Linked DNA regions of Homo sapiens: region 1 is linked to region 2. Evidence: promoter capture Hi-C in human tissues and cell types (Jung and others, 2019). All regions are on one chromosome and are shown on one strand. The core of a region is centred on a gene start or on the middle of the fragment in contact, and the rest is flanking DNA. Distances in the headings are between cores, read along the strand shown.

The links. The method cuts DNA at HindIII sites, captures the fragments that hold promoters and counts their contacts. A contact is called where the count stands out against the background at its distance.
Region 1: the fragment with the promoter of CRTC1 here is called in contact with the fragment with the promoter of LSM4 in region 2 in 1 of the 25 tissues and cell types used here (dorsolateral prefrontal cortex).

The regions. Positions count from the first base shown.
Region 1 is chr19:18,682,385-18,686,017 of GRCh38, reverse strand. CRTC1 (CREB regulated transcription coactivator 1) reads right to left here and starts at 2,338. Exons shown (of 14, transcript NM_015321.3): 1 at 2,190-2,338. The coding sequence starts at 2,315. RefSeq lists a silencer at 2,349-2,438 and an enhancer at 2,649-2,948. The HindIII fragment of the contact is 17,160 bases long and covers 1-3,633 here.
Region 2 is chr19:18,320,889-18,324,665 of GRCh38, reverse strand. LSM4 (LSM4 homolog, U6 small nuclear RNA and mRNA degradation associated) reads left to right here and starts at 1,590. Exons shown (of 5, transcript NM_012321.5): 1 at 1,590-1,648. The coding sequence starts at 1,646. It overlaps LOC105372300 (a long non-coding RNA gene), which reads right to left. Exons shown (of 2, transcript XR_007067157.1): 2 at 2,669-2,932. RefSeq lists enhancers at 449-1,051, 1,250-1,469 and a silencer at 1,530-1,709. The HindIII fragment of the contact is 25,574 bases long and covers 1-3,777 here.

The DNA of each region.
Region 1 (3,633 bases), core at 1,089-3,588, 360 kb before region 2:
GCACAACTCTGTGAATATACTAAAAACCACCAAACTGTACACTTTAAACAAGTAAATTGTATGATGTGTGAATCATATCTCAATAAAGCTATTATTTTAAAGAGATGTTTTCAACAACAATAATCTATTTCCAATCCCACGCAGAAACTGGACTTCTAATCAGAATGACACCCATGAACCTACTGTGACCCCTTTCTTCCGGTCACACTGCAAACATTTGACAACAACTGCATGCCAGCACACACCATGTGCTGGAGACAAAAAGAAGTGGCCACTCCTGCCTCAGAAGCCCTGATATGTGGGGGACACTCACGTGGAAGGATGCTCAAGTTGCACACTTTCTTCTTATTTTCTTTTTTTGAAATGGAGTTTCACTCTTGTCACCCAGGCTGGAGTACAGTAACATGATCTCGGCTCACTGCAACCTCCACCTCCCAGGTTCAAGTGATTCTCCCACCTCAACCTCCCCAGTAGCTGGGATTACAGGTAGCTACCACCACGTCCGGCTAATTTTTATATTTTTAGTACAGACAGGGTTTCACCACGTTGGCCAGGCTGGTCTCGAACTCCTAACCTCAGGTGATCCACTGCCTCAGCCTTCCAAAGTGCTGGGATTACAGGCATGAGCCACCACACCTGGCCATTTTCTTATTTTTTTTTCATTCATTCATTCACCAGCCATCTCTTTCTCTACATCCTGAGCAAGAATGTAGCTGCTTGGAGCTGGGAGGACAGATGTGGCACACTCACCGAGCATGCCTAAAGCAGTACCTGGGTGACAGTGAGCTCCCAATCATTACCAACACAGAAATGAAGACACAAATCCTAGTCTATAAGGTCACAATCTCTCAGAGAAACAAACAACTAGTTACAAAGTAACACAGACTGAAAGTGCTACCTAAGGAATCAGAGACTGAGGTTAAGTCTACCTGAGCCAGTCACATCAGTGGCTGAATCTGGAAACCAGGGATACGAGCATCTGCAAAGCCCACCCAAACCCTCCCCAAGGCCCCAGGATGCAGGAGAGAGGTCTCACCACACTGCAAGAACAAAGTGGAGATTCAGCATCACCTTTGCAGAGTGTGCTCACCACCCTGCCCCAAGAGGAAGGTCTTGCTAGAATGCCTGACAAGAAACTGAGGCCTGAGGAACTCGGGTGCCTTGCCGTGCTCAGACACCAGCCCCAAGCCCCTGCTCCTGGCCCACAGCAACTTCCCAGGTGAGATTTGCAGGGTATCTGCTCTGCCAGACAGGAGCCTGGCAGAACCTGGCCTGCCCCTGCACACCAAATGCGCCCAGCCACCTGAGGCAGACCTGGCCCTCCACCCTGGTCCTGAGAGGGCAGGGGCTGTGGTCAGCATCCCCTGTTCCACTGGGAGGAACATCACCTGGCCCCCACCATATGGGCTACATGGAGAAGGGGCAGCTGTCTCCACTCCAAGTTCCAGGACTGAGCACAATCTGCCTTCTTGGCCCCCCTCTGGACCCCCTGGGGGACAGGATCTGACCATTCCCTCAGCTGTCCAAGAGGGAGAGATCCCTGTCCCACCTCAGCTCTGCAAGTGGGGACATCCGTTCCTCCCCCAACACCCAGGGAGTAAAGGCACAGGTAACCATGACGTAGAGACACCGGTCCCCCTCAGGTAGCAAGAATGGGAGGGCATCTGTCCCTCCCAGGTAGCAAGGATGCGGGGGCACTTGCACCCTCACCCCCAGCTACCAATGGTGCTTGCAAGCAGCACCCAGCTCATACACCTGTGTCATCCTGCCCCCCCAGGTAGCAATGATGCGGGGGCACCTGTCCCTTCCAGGTAGTAATAATGTGGGGCACCTGTCCCCCTCGGGTAACAATGATGTAGGGACACCTGTCCCCTGTCAGGTAACGACGAGGTACTAGCACCTGTTCCCTCCTAGTAGTAATGATATAGAGGCCCCTGTCTCCTCCGGGGAGCAGTGATGCAGGGCACCTGTACCCCATCAGGTATGGATTTTGTGGGGTCACCTGTCCCGCCCACGACGCCCGGGGCGTGGGGACACCTGTCCCCCTCGGGCCGTGCCAAGCCCCGCCCCCGCCGCGCGCGCCCCGCCCCCGCCGCGCCCCCCCCCACCCCGCCCCGTGCACGCGCCGGACACGCGCCCCCTCCCTCCCTCCGCCGGCCCTGAAGGGTCGGCGCGGGCAGCCCCCTTACCCGCGCGGCCCGCGTCAGGCTCAGGTCCTTCATGACCTCCTCGAAGGCCGCCGTCTCCTCCGCCTGCTTCTGATTGTGCAGCGCGATCTTCTCGCTGAATTTCCGCGGATTGTTCGAAGTCGCCATCTTCTCGCCGCCACCTCCTCCTCCTCCTCCTCCTCCTCCACCTCCTCGCCCCCCCACTCGCCCGTGCCACCGCGCAAGCGCCGGCTGGGCCCACGGGCGGCGAGCAGTGCGCAGGCGCGCCGGCGGTCGTGAGCGCGGCGCAGGCGCACAGGAGCGGCGCGCGGCGCGGGGGCGAAGGCGCATGCGCGCGCCCAGGCGCGCGCTCGGGGCCCGCGGGAAGGGCGGTGGAGCGCGAGTGGAAATTTCAACGCCGACGCAGTGATCCGCCTCCTGGCCCGCTGGACAGCGGCCTCTGGGCTGTTGGACAAGGACCGCGGATCGGCTGGGGCACTGGAGCCCCCAAGAGGGAGACGGCCTGACCCAGATCCTCCCAATTCACAAGGGTGGGGCCAGGCACCCCCCCCCGCAAGGATTGGTGGCACCCCAAGTTGAACCTGGGTTTGGACTAAGAGCTCTGAAAACAGACTAGGGCGTTGGTCACTCATGCATTCATTCATTCAAGGAATATTTACTGAGCACCTACTATGTGCCAGGCAAACTGGAGTACAGGCGTGAACAAGCAGAGGTGATCCCTGCCCTTATGGAGTGTACAGTCAGAGAGGGGGCAGACATAGCACACAAATAACCAAGAACTTTTCAGATGGAGGTAAATGTGATGCGGTAAATAAGACCAGTGGCCAGCCACAGAACATTAGGGAGGGAGGCTCCTGCAGCCACCACAGACAGGGAGGCGGAAAGTTATCTTAGCTAAGACCTGAACCCTGCAATCGGCTCTCTCAGTCCATAAACCTAGCTGTTGCCCTTAACGACTTTCTTTTTTTTTTTTTTTTTTCCCTTGAGACCGAGTTTTGCCCTTGTCGCCCAGACTGGAATGCAGTGGTGCGATCTCGGCTCACTGCAACCTCCTCCTCCCAGGTTCAAGCCATTCTCCTGCCTCAGCCTCTCCAGTAGCTAGGATTACAGGCAGGCGCCACCACGCCCAGCTAATTTTTTTATTTTCAGTAGAGACTAAAGACCATGTTGGCCAGGCTGGTCTTGAACTCCTGACAGCAGGTGATCCACCCGCCTCGCCCTCCCTAAGTGCTGGGATTACAGGCGTGAGCCACCATGTCCAGCCGACGACTACTTTTTCCCATTCCCTTGCAATGGGCATATTGCTATTCTCTGGATACCTGAGCCCAAAGAACTGGAGTTACAGAGCTTCAGCCTTCCCTCTGCATACTTCTCCAGTCCAGTCTTGTTCAAGGATCTCTATTTTGCAACAAGGTGCTAACAGAAGGGTCCAGAAATCCCATCAAGACTCAGCAGTGAAGGAAGG
Region 2 (3,777 bases), core at 341-2,840:
TGGGTTTTTTTCAGTCTTTTGATATTATGAATAATGTCAATAAATAGCATCAGTCATTTAAAAACGAGGCTGGGCGTGGTGACTCATGCCTGTAATCCCAGCACTTTGGGAGGCCAAGGTGGAAGGATCACCTGAGGTCAGGAGTTCGAGGCCACCTCCTGGCCAACATGGCAAAACCCCGTCTCTGCTAAAAATACAAAAATTAGCTGGGCATTGTGGCATGTGCCTGTAATCCTAGCCACTCGGGTGGCTGAGGCAGAAGAATCCCTTGAACCCAGGAGGGAGGGGTTGCAGTGAGCTGAGATCGCACCACTGCACTGCAGCCTGGGTGATAGAATGAGACTCCATCTCAAAAAAAAAAGAACAGGGTCTTCGCAGATGTAATTAAGGATCTTGAGATGACATTATCCTGAAATTTATGGTGGACTTAATAAGAGAAAGGAGTGTCCTTTACAAGAAAAAGGAGCGGCCGGGCTCGGTGGCTCACGCCTGTAATCCCAGCACTTTGGGAGGCAGAGGAGGGAGGATTGCTTGACCCCAGGAGTTCGAGACCAGCCTGGACAACATAGGGAGACCCTGTCTCTACTACAAAAAAAAAAAAGAAAAAAAAAAGGAGAGATACATTTGAGACTCAGAGACACACAGAGAAGGCCAAGTGACGACAAAGGCAGAACGCGGAAGGCTGCATCTACAAGCCAAGAACTCCAAGGATTCCCAGCAGCCACCAGAACCCAGGAGAGAGGCATAGGACACACAGATTGTCCTCAGAGCCTCCAGAGGGAGCCAACTGTGCTGACAACCTCACTTCATTATTCTGATCTCTTGAATTGTGAGAAAATCACGTTCTGTTGTTTTAAACCTCGCAGTGTGTGGGCATTTGTTACAGCAGGCCCCAGAAAACTAATAGCATTCGCCTATTTACTTTGTTTACTGTCTGTCTCCCTGAGGGCCACGAATTTTGTGTTTTGTTCATTCTGTGAGCAGAAACAGGCACAGAGTAGGTAATAAGTACTTAATATGTGCCAGACGCTGTTTTAAGTGCTTTTACATGGTTTCATTCATTTCATCCTTACAGTAAGCAACGTTTTGGAGCAGACACTACTATTTACAGGGAGCAAACTGAGGCCCCGAGGGTCGTGGTCAGGATTCCAACCTATTAAATGATGTTCCCTGGATAATTACAGAATCAGAAAACTAGGAGTCGGAAGGGCAACATCAGGCACGGCCCAATCACCACGAAGCCTCGATTTCTCTCTCTCTACTGCAAACGAAAGGCATTAACTGGCTTTGCCCACAGCGTGGAGCCCAGGAGACCGACGAAGGTTTCACCTGCGCACGCATTTCCTCACAATGCACCCCGCGCCGGCGCGCGTTGCTCCGCCTCCTTTTGCATTACAAGCCGCGGCACTTTACGGCTCTCGTCCTCGTTCCTCCGGCGGGAACACGGCCCGCCCCGCCCTTTCGCCCAGCGGGCCCCGCCCTACTCCGCGTGGATTGGTTGACCGCCCTTCGAGCCCGGTGCTGACTGGCTTGCGTCTCTGCCACTTTCTTTCAGCTTAGTGGCGCGCGGCGCGGCGACGACCGCCGGGAGCGTGTGCAGCGGCGGCGGCGGAAGTGGCCGGCGAGCCCGGTCCCCGCCGGCACCATGGTGAGGGCAGGGCAACTGCGGGGTCTCACCGGGAGGCGGGAACAGCAGTCGTTGGGATCCCTGCGGGCGGGCGCTGTGGGCTTGGTTGGCGCGGGGCGAACGTAAGGTCCGAGCCTCGAGTCCCGCCCCCCGGCACGAGGCTGGGAAACTGAGGCCGGAGACTGCAGGTGGCTCTATCACGTTCGTGTCTGGGATTTAGGGTTGCACGGACTTGTATCCACAGTACAGTGGCCTCGCCTTAGTTAGTTTTCCCAGTTTGCAGGTGGGGAAACTGAAGTAAAAAAAAAAAAGGTGGGGATCCGCCAAATGCAGCAGAGAGTTTTTGGGCAGGGAAGGGGTCCCTTACGCTTCGGGCCCAGTCTGACCTCCCTGATTGAAAACTAGAGTGCTGGGAAGTAGGGGGCCAGTCTGAGTTGTGAAACTTAGTTTTAGGAATTTCAGAGCTTGCAAGATGCTAGCAGCACAGCCTCCTAGGCCTCTTGGTTTCTGGCTGAAAAGCAGGCCTGGTGCTGGGGTGTGGTGTTTCTCCTTGGGTCACATAGCATGTCATTCCAGCGGAAGGGGGCGTTTTGAGCTAGGGGTGGACAAAGTACATCCTCCCAATACAAAGAAGGAAAAATTGCGGCCCAGGTCTCTGCAGGGCCCATTGTTTATGATTCTGGAAGTTCTGGATCTGGGCTAGAAAGTGCCCGTGTCCCCCACTGTGCAGATCGGAAAAGGAATTCAGAGCTGGGAGTTTCCTGGCCCATCAGCTTCTGGTCCTTCTTTTTTCAATGAGAGAAACCAAGGCCCTTGTTGGGGATGTGACTTCCAGACTCTGTGAGACAGTGGGAGATTCAGTAACCAGGAGGGTCCCCCAGGGGTGGCTGCATCAGAACTGTGGATTAGTGAGAACTCTCCCTAAATCCGGCTGGTCAGTGTGTAACCACCCAATGGGTTCACCTTGCCTGTCTTCCTAGACAGATTTATCAAGACAGGGGAATTGCAGTGGAGAAAGAGTATTTCACACAGAGCCAGCTATGCAGGAGACCAGAGTTTTATTATTGCTCAAATCAGTCTCCGCTGAGCATTAGGGGATCCGAGTTTTGAAAGATAATTTGGCGGGTAGGGGCTCAGGAAGTGGGGAGTGCTGATTGGTTGGAGCTTCCTGAGGTCGATGGAGTCATCGACGGGAGTGTTGAAGTGAGGTTTTCTTGCTGTCTTCTGTTCCTGGGTGGGATCGCAGGACTGGTTGAGCCAGATTACTGGTCTGGGTAGTGTCAGCTGATCCGTCAAGTACGGGGTCTGCAAAATATCTCAAGCACTGATCTTAGATTTTATAATAGTGATGTTATCCCAAGGAGCAATTTGGGGAGTTTCAGACTCTTGCAGCCAGAGGCTGAAGTTACCTAAATGGTAATTTCTAATCTTGTAGCTTATTTGTTAGTCCTACAAAGGCAGACTGGTCCCCAGGCAAGAAGAGGGTCTTTTCGGGAAAGGGCTATTACCAATTTTGTTCCAGAGTCAAACTATAAACTAAATCCCTTCCCAAGGTTAGTTTGGCCTATACCTAGGAATAAGCAAAGATGGCGTAAAGGTTAGAAGCACAATGGAGTCGGTTAGGTCTGATCTCTTTTCACTGTCATAATTTCCCGCTACAATTTTTGCAAAGGCGATTTCAAGTGCAAGGATTCAGAGAGCCTGTCCCTCTCTGCGGTGTACTTAGAGGGCAGAGTTGGCATGTAAGACTGGGCAGAGCTGGAAGGATCCATCCCTGTGTTAAGTTTTGTGGGAGCAGGATCTTCGTTTTTCTTCCGACTAGATTCCCAGTATGTAGAACGGTGCGTGGGCAAAGTGTGAACTCATTCATTCAGCCCCTTCCCACCTTCTGAACATCCAGAGTCCTGGCTGTCCAGCTGTTTCCTGGAGGAGTAGCCGAGAATGGACAAGCCATCACAGGATACACACTTCCAGTTCCCTGTCGTCAGGGCAGGGCCAGAAGGAGTGGCCTAGGTTAGCAGCGGGGATGGGCAGTCCTGGACAGCTTCCTGAATTAGGAGGCACTGGGTTTAGGTCCTCGTGGATCTAGACCTGAGAACCAGATTCCAGATGCTCCAAGAAAGCCCAGAGAAAGGAATTCTCTTTTCTGA